Linked DNA regions of Homo sapiens: region 2 is linked to region 1. The links are contacts of gene promoters, found by promoter capture Hi-C in blood cells and fetal thymus (Javierre and others, 2016). All regions are on one chromosome and are shown on one strand. The core of a region is centred on a gene start or on the middle of the fragment in contact, and the rest is flanking DNA. Distances in the headings are between cores, read along the strand shown.

What was found. Contacts are between HindIII fragments. The CHiCAGO score rates a contact against its expected background, and 5 or more counts as called.
Region 2: a contact is called between a fragment that was not itself captured here and the fragment with the promoter of ELAPOR2 in region 1, in 7 of 17 cell types (naive CD4 T cells, naive CD8 T cells, total CD8 T cells and 4 more). The highest score is 6.3, in naive CD4 T cells.

The regions. Positions count from the first base shown.
Region 1 is chr7:87,056,134-87,063,721 of GRCh38, reverse strand. ELAPOR2 (endosome-lysosome associated apoptosis and autophagy regulator family member 2) reads left to right here and starts at 4,068. Exons shown (of 22, transcript NM_001142749.3): 1 at 4,068-4,397. The coding sequence starts at 4,209. RefSeq lists silencers at 3,791-4,180, 4,271-4,340 and an enhancer at 4,606-5,106. The HindIII fragment of the contact is 3,663 bases long and covers 2,223-5,885 here.
Region 2 is chr7:86,946,380-86,953,967 of GRCh38, reverse strand. It overlaps ELAPOR2 (endosome-lysosome associated apoptosis and autophagy regulator family member 2), which reads left to right. Exons shown (of 22, transcript NM_001142749.3): 3 at 6,046-6,241. Among named protein-coding and RNA genes, the nearest start is that of ELAPOR2, 110 kb to the left of the region's middle. RefSeq lists enhancers at 3,494-3,563, 4,025-4,214, 3,912-4,448, 4,449-4,986 and a silencer at 3,855-3,904. The HindIII fragment of the contact is 1,376 bases long and covers 2,095-3,470 here.

The DNA.
Region 1 (7,588 bases), core at 2,819-5,318:
TACAACTATCTGATCTTTGACAAACCTGAGAAAAACAAGCAATGGGGAAAAGGATTCCCTATTTAATAAATGGTGCTGGGAAAACTGGCTAGCCATACGTAGAAAGCTGAAACTGGATCCCTTCCTTACATCTTATACACAAATTAATTCAAGATGGATTAAAGACTTAAACATTAGACCTAAAACCATAAAAACCCTAGAAGAAAACCTAGGCATTACCATTCAGGACATAGGCATGGGCAAGGACTTCATGTCTAAAACACCAAAAGCAATGGCAACAAAAGACAAAATTGACAAATGGGATCTAATTAAACTAAACAGCTTCCGCACAGCAAAAGAAACTACCATCAGAGTGAACAGGCAACCTACAAAATGGGAGAAAATTTTTGCAACCTACTCATCTGACAAAGGGCTAATATCCGGAATCTACAATGAACTCAAACAAATTTACAAGAAAAAAACAAACAACCCCATCAAAAAGTGGGCGAAGGACATGAACAGACACTTCTCAAAAGAACACATTTATGCAGCCAAAAAACACATGAAAAAATGCTCACCATCACTGGCCATCAGAGAAATGCAAATCAAAACCACAATGAGATACCATCTCACACCAGTTAGAATGGCAATCATTAAAAAGTCAGGAAACAACAGGTGCTGGAGAGGATGTGGAGAAATAGGAACACTTTTACACTGTTGGTGGGACTGTAAACTAGTTCAACCATTGTGGAAGTCAGTGTGGCGATTCCTCAGGGATCTAGAACTAGAAATACCATTTGACCCAGTCATCCCATTACTGGGTATATACCCAAAGGACTATAAATCATGCTGCTATAAAGACACATGCACACGTATGTTTATTGCGGCATTATTGACAATAGCAAAGACTTGGAACCAACCCAAATGCCCAACAATGATAGACTGGATTAAGAAAATGTGGCACATATACACCATGGAATACTATGCAGCCATAAAAAATGATGAGTTCATGTCCTTTGTAGGGACATGGATGAAATTGCAAATCATCATTCTCAGTAAACTATTGCAAGAACAAAAAACCAAACACCGCATATTCTCACTCATAGGTGGGAATTGAACAATGAGAACACATGGACACAGGAAGGGGAACATCACACTCTGGGGCCTGTTGTGGGGTGGGGGGAGGGGGGAGGGATAGCACTGGGAGATATACCTAATGCTAGATGACGAGTTAGTGGGTGCAGCACACCAGCATGGCACATGTATACATATGTAACTAAACTGCACATTGTGCACATGTACCCTAAAACTTAAAGTATAATAATAAAAATAAAAATAAAAATAAAATAAATAAAAATTGGGGTTATTTATACCACAATCTGATTTAAGTTAAAAAAGAAAATAAATCTATTTATATAGCATCATTTTGGCTATGGCTTTTGTTGATACAGCTAAGGCTTTTGTTGACTTTTTAACAAAATTCAGTTCAATTTTCAGGTATACACTGCACAAATAAAGTGGAAAAATGATTATTACCTAGTGATTGTAAGCTATTTCAACCCATTCTTGCAAAAATTTCATTATGAATTTTCTATTAAAGTATATTTTTATAAAACTATCTTTAAGAGTAAATTTATTGATCAGATAATCACAAACTTTGAATAATTTGCTATTACATCCTAAAATAACAGGTAGAAGAGGACCTTAGAGTCTTCTTGAAATTTCCTTTCTCTGTCAGCCTTTATGCTGATTTTAATTATCCAAGGTCAAGATCTTTTTTATGGATGGGACAACTATGAGAAAAGTATTTATTGAAAGTGGCAAGTTGTCCTACTCTGGAAAATCTACAATTGTCATTTGATCCAAGTGCATTGACTGGACGACTCTTATTTTTATAAGGAAAGAAGCTGTTTTCAATTTAATAGTCATGTTGTTAGTTCTTTCTCAGATGACAAAAATCATAACATAATTTGACTCCTAAAAATTCCACATGAATTAAAGAATAAAGCATATAAAAAGGAAATAATAACAAAATATAACAAAATAAGAAAACATAGGCATCTGTATGATTTTGCAGAGATACGTGTACTTCTAGATATAAAAAAGGAAGAAATCACAAAAGAAAATGTTGCTACATTTGAATACCTAAAGATGACAAGCTTCTGCCAGAAAAGCTATCAGAAGTAAATTTAAAAGACTACAAAAAAGTATTTGTAAGATATATGATAAACATACACAAAGCTTATGAAGATTGCTAACGAATCAATAAAAAATGGAACTTCAATAAAATGGCTAAAGTGTGCCAGTGAAAAATTCTCACACCCTGACATGAGAAGGAAAAATGCAAATAGCTAGTAGATATATATAAAAAATCACTCGATGTCACCAATGATAAAAATACATTTTAAAAATAATAGCTTTTGTCTCTTCTACCAAAATGATAAATATCTGAAGTATTATAATCTAGGGTGATGTGAAATAAATACTCATAAACTGCTGGTAACAATTGCTACAAATTTTTTGGAAGGAATTTGTACACTATTCGTCAAAAACTTTAAAAATACACATATCATGTGATCCAATGTTTTCACTTCTAGAAAGTTATCATAAAATATTTAAAGATGCACACAGATTATGTTCCAAGGGCATTCTTTCCAGAATTATTAATAACACTGAATCCTTAAACAATGCCTAATATCTAATAGTAAATTACATGTATCTAAAGAGTAGAAAATATTTTACAATTATTAAAGTTGTGTTGTTGGAGACTTTAATGACTTGAGAAAATATTTATGTTATTAAGAATAAAAATAAAAGCAGGTTACAAATTATTATTCCAGTTTTGCAGTACACACAGAGTTAAAAAAAAAAAAGCAAGGAAATTCCTCAACATGTTAATACCATTAACAATGTTATCTCTGGGTGGTAGGATCTCTAGTTATTTTTATATTCTTCCTGATACTTTTCAATATTTTCCAAAATGTTTACAAATAACATATATTGTTATAATCAGAATATAGGTGTGATACACAAATCTATATGTGTATACATACACACAAACACACATATACAGAGACTTTCATGTGGAAATTTTGTTAAAAGGATATTAGAGATAATGCCACAAACAAATGTGCCACAGGCCAACTTATAATGAGTGGGCCACGTGGATTTGTCCAGATATTCAATAATCAGAAATTTGGATGCTTCTTTTGAAAAACACAATAACTCACCCATTTACAGAATCTGAGATCAAGAAGGGATCTTGAGATCCTTGCCACTGAGGAAGGCCTTATGTCCATCTTGTTCACCATCACCTAGTTCAGTATGTTTTTGAATGAAAGAAAAAACGAAGAGCACCTCAATCATCGCACAGATGGAGAAACTGTTTCCTCCAGAAAACACAGGGCTTAATGCCCAATGTTACACATCTCCACAAAATAACACCAATAGCAGCAATAATTATGGCTACTACTACCAACACATGTCACCTACTGTGTGCCAGGCACTCTTCCAAGTGCTTTATGTACATCAACTTACTTAATCCTCATAATAATCCTACGTGGTGGGTATTATTTTCATTAAATAGGTGAGAAAACTGAGTCACACACCACGTCTACACCTCAGTCCTCTTTCTTCCCCGCCATTTCATGCACACCCTAACTAGAAATTCGATCTGACGCTAGCCAGCATGGATCCTTACAAGGGATGTTCCGAGGGCACATCTGCGTGTTTGTGTGCAATGAGGAAAGTGGCGAGCTTTTTAAAGACCCACCGCCAGAAAACAATGTCCTGATGTCCTGTATTTACTCTGGCTTCATCCCGGGAGCGCCCCTCCCAGTGGGCCACGGGGACCTGAGACAGGCTACTCCACGGGGTCCCCAGCCTCTCTCGCCCTCTAGCGCGAGGCGAGCGCCGCGCAGCCCCTGGGGACCCGCCGGGCTGGGCCGCAGCCCCCGCCCGCGCCACCTGCTCCCCAGCTCCAGCGTCCCCGCCCCGCGTCCCGCCCCCGCGCCGCGCCCGCGCCCCGCGGTCCCTCCCTCCGGCGTGACGGGAGCATCGGCGCTGGCTGCCCGGGCCGCGAGCGCAGCAGAGCTGTCAGCGGGCGGACGGGCAGCGGGTGACGGAGCGGCGAGACGAGCGCACAGCAGTCGCGGCCCGGGAGCCGGAGCTGCCGCCGCACCCCGGGAAGGCTGCCTTGCCGCCGGCCCGCCGACCGCGGCCGGACGAAGATGCTGTTCCGCGCCCGGGGGCCGGTACGGGGCAGGGGCTGGGGGCGGCCGGCGGAGGCTCCCCGCCGCGGGCGCTCGCCGCCCTGGAGCCCCGCCTGGATTTGCTGCTGGGCGCTCGCCGGCTGCCAGGCGGCCTGGGCTGGGGACCTGCCCTCCTCCTCCAGCCGCCCGCTTCCTCCTTGCCAGGAGGTGAGCAGCACCTGGTCCTCTACCTGGAGTTTGCTGGGGGAGGGCGCGGAAGATGAAGGCTGAGAGCGGTTCCTGTTTATTTCTGTTTGCCATCCCCTTTTCCTTTGCTTGGAGAACAGGGGCTTTCGTTTGCTTCGAGGGGTGAAGTTGCCCGCCCTGGTAGCTGGCCCGGAGAGGGTGTGTGGCTTCGCTGTCTCTCGGGGGATGCTTTTCTGTCCGCGCTTGTGTCTTTTGGGGGCTCTGCAGGACTTTGCGGCGTCCTTTTTGGACAGCCAGGTTTGAGGACCTGGGGTCGAGGGAAAGATTTCAGGAAGGGGAGGAGACTGGGGAAGCCCCACCAGTGGGATTTGAAGAACCATCTCATCACAGCTTTTCCAGAGAGCCAGACACAGACACCAGAGGATTTCCCGCTCCTCCTCCCCCTGTCTCCACTCCCCTGTCTCTGCAAACGCCTTCGTCCTACTCCCCTGCCCTCAGCTTCCTGATTAAGGCCCTGTGGGTTTGCTAAGCCAATGTATGGTGTCACTTAGCATCCTTCTGACAAAATGTGGATTTGAATTTGGGGGGGAAAAAAAAGGAGTATGTACTTGGTAGAGAAGATGCAGGTTGATGATGGAGAAAATTAGAAAAGACAGTGAATATGCTTCTTTTGGGAGGTGCTTTATCACCTGGCTGAAGTATTGCCGCGGTGTATTTTATAGCTTGTAATCATTGTTGTTTTACAGCCAAAAAGGATAAACTATGGGAGATGAGATTTTTATCTGGCTTTTAGAAGAACGAGACAGTGTGCCAAAAATTTACAGGGGGTGTCATTGGTTCTTGTATTGGGTGTTTATCTTTCCATTTAGTGTTCAGAAAGTGCATCCTCTTAATGAAAATCAATGAGGGGAAGGAAGCAACATTTCTGACCTACTTTGATTGTGTTGGGAGGATATATGGAATAGATACTGTTTTTAGGAAGATTGTTAGGAATCAGGGCGATGGGTCGTTTTAATTAATGTAGCAAAAATAGGTTAGCCAATAGCCCCTCTGGGAAGAAAGGCCAGACCCTCTTGTTTGTGTATGTTGCTCTAACTTCTGAATTTTACCGAGACTTGAATTACAGAGTATCTGTGTTCTACACATCATCCATCATCTATGGATTTTCGTCTTTCTCTCCTACAGTACAGGTCCCAGGACAGACTGAAATGAAAGAGAATCGGATCAAAGGCTTGTGTGCGAACACACAGCAATGTTGTAATTGGGGAAATCAGGGCAAGAGCTCAACAAACAGCTGTGTTTAATTTTAGGGCTTTTTAGTATAATGAGCTTAATCTATATTCTACAACTTTACATATCACCTGGGAATAATCCATTATTCCAGGTTTCCACAGAAAGCTGCTTCTTGGACATCTCAGATTGAACAGTTGTGACAAGATAAACTTTATCCTCCAGCCCCCAACTTCTAATATGCAGAATATATTTTTCTAAACTGAAAAGTCTTAAGCTTCTGATAACATCGATTCTTAGTAATGAAAATCTGCTTGAAGTAGGCGAAGGTCAGGGTCAATAGAAGTGATGCCTTTGGTCTCTACAACTAGACTAATCTTTTAGATGAACACATGTCCTACACATGTATACCTAGAAAGAAGAGTCTGCAACCTAAAACAAAGATTGAAAGGAGGGGCAGAGAGATGACAGAAGGTTCAGGAAGGCTGGGTTCACTTGATCACAGGTCCTTACTGCATTGGCTTTAGAAATTGCATGTGACTCATCCGTTGAGATCTGAAATTTACATTTTCCTTCTGAAAAATGAGAATAAATAAAATATATAGGAGGACGCTATTGAGCCTGCCTTTGGCTGTATGTTTTTATAAATGTTAATGCACAGATCCATTTATGTTCTTCCTGATGACTGACAAGTAAGAGGAACTAATGGGAGTTAGAAGTTCTTGGAAGTAGAAGAGGCCTAGTGACCTCCCAGGGGTTGAATCTGTTTGATATCTGGTCTAACCAGTGGAGCTAATTTACAGAATTGGTCATTGTTTTTCTCTGACATTGTTTTTAAGAGGAAAGTGGGGAGGGCAAGTTATTTTCAGACTTTGAAGGTAAAGGAATGTTTGTGCTGGGAGTGGGGAAAGGGTATCCTCTTGAGCTCAGCCCTTTCCTCTGAATACAGTTATGGGATTGTGGGCTAAACGCCTGTGAATAAAGACACAGTTAAAGTAACTACTCTGTGTTCACTCCTGCTCGTTTATCATTTTCCACTTTTTGTTAACATTAAAGGAGGCAAATGCCACAAAGGACAGACTATGCAGTGGGGAACAGAGTGAGGGCAGTTAAAGTGAGGAATTTTCAGGCTGAGAGCTAAAACCAACTCTCAATGTGAGAGAATGTTGAGGAGTATAGAAAAAGCTATAGGCCATTTTGAACCTCATTTCCCCCCAGTAGTTTGTGTCACCCTCATTTATTAATATTTTTGTAGAAGTAGTCATGTTTAACAAAGTTACATAAACTCTGATTTTCCTGCCTGGTTTTAGAGGAAAGCAACTAAAGGAAGACAAATGCAGAGAACTGGCCTGGGAGTCATCCAGTTATAATTGCCTGAGTTCAGAAAAAAGGCCCTTCAAAAACTAGGTTATGGGTAAAAGTTACATTTAGATTTTTGCAGAGGAATGGACTCTGGGGTGAAACTCATAAAATACATATTCCTTTGTCAAAGTCTTTGGATTATGAAGTCGAAAGGGGGAGAAAAGTTATTGTGTTGGAATGTTCAGCTGGTGATCAGATCAGCAGTGTGGAAGCACACGCACAAACAGGAAGCGATCATTTGGGAGACAGAAATAAAAGGAAAGTCAAAGTGCTGGCAGATGAAGCACAAGAATAGGATGTGACTTTGGAAAATGGTATTCAAAGGAAATAAATGAGGCCTGGACATCAGAAAGTATAGAATTCCTCAGGTTTTTGTATGGGGTGAACTTATAAAAGGTAAATCTTCTTTGGGTTTCTTGGCCTGTGTTTCACTTATAAAATGTTATTAATGAAACATGACCAATTATTTGTATTATGAGGATGAAATGAGATTAATATAAGATAAAGGAGAAATATAAATATGAGGGCTGATTATTGCTAGATTAGTAGAGCTAGATCCTGATATTTTGGGAAGAGTCTACAGTGAGACTCCAGAGGTTCCTAGGATAGGCCCATCCAAG
Region 2 (7,588 bases), core at 1,533-4,032, 110 kb after region 1:
ATAAGGCTGATAAAAAGAACAGTGAGTGCAGCAAATGACCTCTTGGTTACAGTTTAGACTTCAAGATGTTGGGTTTTTAAATATCACTCTTTCACTGGGTGCTTAGGTAAACTATTGTGAAATACTTGAGGCCACTGTTAAGTAGTGCCTAAGACCTTAGGCAAATAAGGTCTTTCTGTTCTCATTAAAAACTTTGGAGTTTGCCTATCTTTAATTCAGTTTCTCTAAGATTTCAAGGTTGTTGAAGAAGAAAAATTAGAAATGACTAATTGATTCAAATTAAATACGGTAAATTCATGTTCAAAACAGCTAACAACAGTTAACAACAGCTATTAATAATAACTGTCTATCATACTGCTTGTTGAAGGGTTCCTATGTTGTATGCTAAAAAAACTGAATGAAAATAGTACAGTCTTTAAGATTATTAAAAAACCTGATGATCTAATTAAAGAACAAATGCCAAGGTAGCAGTGTTGACATAGAGAGTGGATGAGGCTAGGATGGAAGATAAAAGGAAAAGCAGGTAGTTTTGGTGGCCATCAAAGGAAGTCAGCAGTGCTAACTCTGTTGACATAGTCTTGTGGAGTAAACAGTGTTTACCAAGAAAGTGTGGCTCTTTTCTTCCTTTGACAGGTGTCTCTAAGCCTGACTTCCAGGATGAAAAAGATTGAGGAGTAGCAAATGATTAAACTATGAAAAGCTTTAGACTTACTAGCTCCTCTGTATTATTAAAGGCCCTATACTTATTCAACTAATTTGACTGCATAATTAATCTGAAGGATGTAATCCACTGGCAGAGTTCTTATAGAGATGTGTGTCCCATGTCCCTGAATTAAACTATCAATAATTGTGTGGGTTTTTTTTTTTTTTTTTTGACAGAGGCTTGCTCTGTTGCCCAGGCTGGGGTGCAGTGGCATGATCTAAGCTTACTGCAAACTCTGTCTTCCAGGCTCAAGCAATTCTCATGCCTCAGCCTCCCAAGTAGCTGAGATTACAGGTGTGCGCCACCTCGCCTGGCTAACTTTTTGTGTTTTTTGTAGAGATAGGGTTTCACCTTGTTGTCCAAGCTGGTCTCAAACTCCTGACCTCAAGCAGTCTGCCTGCCTCAGCCTCCCAAAGTGCTGGGATTACAGGTGTGAGCCACTGAGTCCAGCCTAAACTATTAATAATTGTATTTAATATTTATTGTGTGCTGCATGCCAGGTAATATGCTAAATGCTTTATATGATATATCTCCTTTATTCCCACAACTCATTGAGATAGCTATTGTTATTATTTTCCTTTTATAGGCAAAGTCATTAGACTTATGGAAGATAGAAACTTGCTAAAATATTTTTAATGCATGTTTTAGGAGTAGTACATTAAAAATCCACAAGAAATATGAGGTTATTGCTAAAATGGTTATTGCTGTATAATGCACATGAACATTAACAGTTCAGGATAGGAATGAAGAATGATGTGATGTATGATGATTAATTTGGTTGGAATTGTTTGCCCTTTTTGTATTGGTTGTAATAATTTTTTGAACTGAATTTTCTCTGAGGCCCCACCTTTGGAATCAGACAGACCAGAATTTGAGTTTCAGCTTTGCCATTGGTTAACTGTTAACTAGTTAACCTTTTTAATCAGGTTATTTAAATGCACTGTGGCTCAGTTTCCTCATCTGGTATATAGGCATAATCCCTTCCTCCCTCACCAGTCTACTATAAACACAGTTAATCCTCATTATTCATGGATTCAATATTTGCAAATTTGACTACTTGCTAAAATTTATTTGTAACCCCCAAATTAATACACTCAATGCTTTCATAGTTATTTGCAGACATATGCAGAGTGGTGAGATATCTGAGTCACCCAACTACATGAATGAACAAGGTGACACTTTGACTTCTTACTGCTTTTCTCATACTGTAAACAAGTGTCCTTTTGGTGGTTTATTTAGTACTATGTGTTTAGCATTTTAGTTATTTTTTTGGGTGATTTTGCTGCTTAAAATGGCCCTCCAAGTATAGTGCCAATGTGAAGGCTAGTGTTCCTAAGTACAAGAGGGCTGTGCTATGCCTTTCAGAGAAAAATACATGTGTTAGATAAGCTTTATTCAGGCATGAGTTATAGTTCTGTTGGCCATGAGTTCAACATTAACGAATTAACAACATATACTAAATCAGATGTTTTTAAAAAGAAATACACTTAAACAAGGTTAGGTATTGATTGGTTGACAAAGGTGATGTGACCAAAGGTTCCCAGGAACCTAACCCTGTATTTTCCATAAGAGTGATGGTCCAGTATTCATTAATTTAGTGTTTGGGGTAAATTCATATAACACAACTACTGCGAATAACAAGAATTTACTGTGTTTGTAAAGTATCAAGCATGGCACCTGGTATATACCAAATATCCATTATATTCACTTTCAACTTTATCTCTTAGTTTTCCTTCTGACTTCATGGAAACACTTGGGAAAGAAATGGGAATATTCTTTATGATTTTAATTAACAGGGCAGTGAACATTCCAAAATGGCATCATTGTATTTAGAAGACAAGATTCACAAACGCAATTCTTCTCTTTTTTATATTTTAGAGTTCTTTATAACAACATATCATAAAATATTACCTTTTATTAAGTTATAGATAATCAACTTAAAATACCATTTTGGACACTAAACTGTCTTCCAAGATAACTTTATTAGGAAGTCAATATTTTTGTCTTTGTGGGCAATGCAGTTTCTGTTGCAGCTATTCAACTCTGCCATTGTGGTGTGAAAGCAGCCATAGACAGTAGGTAAATGAATGATCGGGATTGGGTTTCAATAAAACTTTATTTACAAAAGCAGGTAGTGAGCTGGATTTCCCCTGCAGGTTGTAGTTTGCTCACCTCTGATTTAATGTACTGTAGGGTCTTGGTTTATGATATTATTATTTATCATATTAGGCAAATGTCTGATTCTGAGTTTGCTAGAAGATCCATAGACCATTGAAAATAAGCAGTTTTCCATAACTGTGTTTTTCTGTTAGTTGTGCTGGTAGTGATAATAGCTTTAATGAGCATTTGTTATATGCCAGGCACTAACCACCTTATACTATATTTTATTTTCTCAGTATGGTCACAGGATTCTTGGGGTGTCACTTCACCAGCTGGAAACCCCTGTGGCCAGTGGCACCTTTGCCTGAGTTTTGCTCAGGCCCACCAGGCTTGTTCTGCCTCCTTGGCCTGCCAGGCTGCATTTGGCTCACTCTACTGGCCTGGGTCCCACGCTGGCCAAGGGCTAGCCAGGTGCAGAGTGGCAAGGGGTGTGTGAGTGAGCATGGGGTTCAGGCTACCATGCACAGCCAGGCATGACAGCTGCGGTGGGGGGAGCAACTCCAGGTGACAGCATGGGCACTGGTTCCCTGTGAGGCTGCAGCTGAACCAAGCATGCCACAAGCAGCTTCTGTGCTGGCACCGGGGAATATGGTGGCACCCAGAAGCTTGGAGACAGAGCCCCAAAGAGGCTGTTACAGGAACTACAGAGCCCCAAAGAGGCTGTTACAGCCTTGACTTGGGGAGCTTCCAGGTCTGGTATCCCCAAAGGGCCACAGCTCTTCTCTCCTTCTTGTCACCTGCAACGTGGCAAGCAAGGAGCATGTTTCAGCCCTATTTGTTAAAACTCTTTTAGCTCCACCATTTGGTGGTTCCTGAGTTCTTGTCCTATATCCAGGAAGAATGAGGTATGTGGACAAGTGGAGGGTGAGCAAGGTGAAGAGGAGCTTTATTGAGCTACAGAATAGCTTAGAGGAGACCCACAGTGACTAGCTCCTCTTCATAAGCAGGGTGTCTCAGCTACTGTTCAGCTCTCAGCAGAGAGGGGACCCTGGAGTGGGTAACCGAGTCCAGGGCTTTTATGGGCCTGGGCCTCAGCCAGCCAGAGGGAGGAAGTGTGTGCTGATTGGTCAATGGGCGGCCATGGGCAGTCTGGGGGGAAAAAGCACCACAAGTTCCCATTCTGGCCCACTGACTGGCAACCCAGCCCCCAGGCTTCAGAGCCTCCCTGGCTTGAAGGTGGGGCTTTGTGGGACCCATCCCCTTCCATCCAGGAGACTCTATGCCTCCTGCCACTGTTCTGGGCACCCAGGCTGTTCGGTCAAGGAGTGCCTGCAGGCCAGTGCCAAGCTGCCTTCAGCCCCTGCTTCAGTCTCTCTCCTGTGCTTGTTGGTGGCCAAAGTCTGGAGGAGGCTGAGGTGGCAGGAAGCTGGTATGTTAGCAGAGTGCCCAGGCTCAGCCCCAACCTTGCTCTGAGATTGGAAGGGGTGCCAGGAGTGGGGAGAGGCCAGGCAGGGGGAGCAGACGTCTCCAAGCCTGTGGGGGAAGGGGTTCTTCCTGGGCCCCTGAGAGTGCCAAGATGCCCTGGTCCACAGCCATGGCTTGGGTAGCTGCAGCTGTGCTCAGGATGGTGGAGCTCCTGCCTGCTCCTGGCCCCCAAGAGCACAGGGAAGCTTGAGTCTGCCTGGGAGGACGGGGCTCTGCCTCCTCCCGCCCCAATGGCTCCATGGAACGTGCTGCCTGGTCCGCACTTCCCCCACAGTAGCCGGCTTCATGGCAGTGGTCACTCCAGGCTGGCTGCTGCTGCCATCAGTATAGCCCTTAAAGGTACCTATTGTGATTGTTATCTCATTTTTTAGAGACAGAAACTAAGGCCTAGAGAGGTGAAATAACTCACTCAGTGTCATAGAATTAGGAAGTGGTACAGCCTTGTCCTAGGACAGTTTTGACTATGTAGCCAGCATGCCACATTCTTTGCATAATCTTTTTTTATTTTCTCATGTTTTACTGATTTGGGGATGTTGATTTGAATGTAGAAGTTCATTGTACAGCATCTTTAAGGTTTTCTCAAGGAAAGCATTATATTAATTCAGCGAATAAGTAGATGTGTGTGGATTTTAGCTCTAATTCTTTAATTAGTTTTTAAAAATCAGCTGATTTTTATTTCTGGCTAAGTTTTCTAATGTATTCTAAAAGAGAAGAATCTACCTAAATGTGAGACTTTGCTGCTTTACACTCTGCTGGGAGATTTGTTTTTCTTCACTGGGTAATTTGGAGGTCTCATTTTGTTCTTGTTTCTTTAATATCCTGATTAAAGGATTAGAAAGCCCTTTTCCAAGGTTGGAGTCACTAATACCATCGTGCACATAGCCATGTACTTGGAGGATGTTGATTTGCATTTGTTGAAGGAATAATAACTTAGCTTTCTTTTTTTGTAGTGTGTCAACTATTCTTCACATTGTCGTATCTAGTATCTCTGGGTACAGTTCTCAGAGTCTGCAGAAAGCTTGACATCAGAAATAAGATATAGGTGGTAGAGATGACTAGGTTGGTGTGAATATTGAAAAAGTGGGCTCATGGTTTCAGAGTGGAGATAACCTGTTCAACTATTGCACTGCTTTCCTGTTTCCCTTTTTATATTTAGTTGTCACTCATTGGATCAGCATTTTATCTGGACTTAGTATGTGCCTGATACAGCTAGGAATCCAAAAATAATGATCCTTGTTTTCTTAAAGCTCAAAATCTCACATCAACTTATAAGTGGTCTTAATATGTGCTTATCCACTGATTAGCATAAATTAAGTGCTTTAATGGAGGTATTATAACAAGTGCACTGTAGGACCATAAAGGGAGGTACAACTGACTGCCCATTGGGCCAGGGGAAGGGATCTGTTATGAAGTGAGTGGTTTTTGAGTTGAGAACAGGAGTGTTCCATGTAGAGAAGGTAGGATTGGCCAACATCTATCTTGTAGGAAAGAAGACCACAACAGCAGGAGAGAGGATGAAATATTTTGGGAATGATAGGAATTCTGTTTTGGCTGGAAGAGGGTGGGGCAAAGGGTGAGCTTGGAAAAATAGGTTGGAACCAGATTGTGAAATGCATGTAGTGATAAGAGGAATTTGAAAGGCTTTCGTTTGAGTGTGGCACAATCAGAGTTTTATAAAAATAATTCTGGTGACAGCATGAAGGGGAGGAAATTGATGGGAGGGTAAGTAATGGGTTGTCCATTCTTCTGCCTTCCAGCTTTCTCCTGTGCTTCTGGAGAGTATCTAGAAATGAAGAACCAGGTATGCAGTAAGTGTGGTGAAGGCACCTATTCCTTGGGCAGTGGCATCAAATTTGATGAATGGGATGAATTGCCGGCAGGATTTTCTAACATCGCAACATTCATGGACACTGTGGTGGGCCCTTCTGACAGCAGGCCAGACGGCTGTAACAAGTAAGAATCCAAAGCAGCCTTTGGCTCTTAACTGAATATTTGAGAAGAAAGTAGTTGCTCTTTTCCAGAAAGAAGATGAGGATAATCTTGGTACTGTTTGTGGTGATAGATAAGCTAATTGCAAAGAATCATGTTTTTTGGACGGTCATTGCAATGAGTTTTCATGAGGTTAAAATCATTGCCCTCAGGATATAATAGACACTGTATGCAAAAATGCAATAAAGCTGTTAGAGAAGCAAATTAATTTTCTCATATTTATAACTACATTTAAGCCACTGGTGTTTCTACTAACCTTTTTCTGATTTTTAACAGATACTTTCAGGTTTTTTTATTTTCCTCTGACAGGAAGAATTCATAACCTTCATTTAGACACTTGATTATCTCCTATAAAAGAGAGTGGGTTAAGTACCTAAGGTGGAAAGCGCCTTTGCTTAATTCCTACCTCTTTTATAGGGGATTATTAGCTTTGCATATGACAAAGCTGGAGAAATGTTAAACTGTTTTGAAAAAAACAAAACAAAATGTTTGTCTTTGAGCTATATCCCTTCCTGTTCCCTTGTATTAATTATGTAACATTTCCTTTCATATGGATTTGCTTAGGAGAATTCAACTTTAGGGCTCTGGCTACCCCCTGACAAGAGTAGCCTCTCAGGAACCCCACATTTTTACCATAAGCTAAGGATGCTGGGGAATTATTTAGCTGTGTTGAAAGGCATATTCATTCCCTCCCTCCCTTCCTTTCTTCCTTCCTTTCACTCTAGCTGTCTTTTTGCCAAATGATGCCAATTTCTTTATTTTAATCTCTCGATAATAGGATTATTTCCTTGAGAGAGTGTGTGTTTTAAGTAAAAGAGTTCCTTAGAGGAAGGTACTAGTAGGATGTTGTGGGACCTCAGATCTTTGTTTTGGTGGGCAGGAGATACTGACAAGGCTTCTTTTTCTGCCTGGAATAGTTTATGCATAAAAGAAATCGAGTAAGCGGAAGTTTTTCAATGTAGTGTTTTCTAGTGTAATTTTCTCAGTGTAAATTTGAGTCTGGGCCAGTGCGGCGGTGGCTCATGCCTGTAATCCCAGCACTTTGGGAGGTCGAGGCAGGCGGATCACCTGAGGTTGGGAGTTCAAGACCAGCCTGACCAACATGGAGAAACCCCATCTCTACTAAAAATACAAAAATTAGCCTGGCGTGGTGGCAGGTGCCCGTAATCCCAGGTACTCTGGAGGCTGAGGCAGGAGGATCACTTGAACCCTGGAGGCAGAGGTTGCGGTGAGCTGAGATCGCACCATTGCACTCCAGTCTGGGCAACAAGAGCAAAACTCCGTCCACTTTTGCATACTTTTTATTTCTCT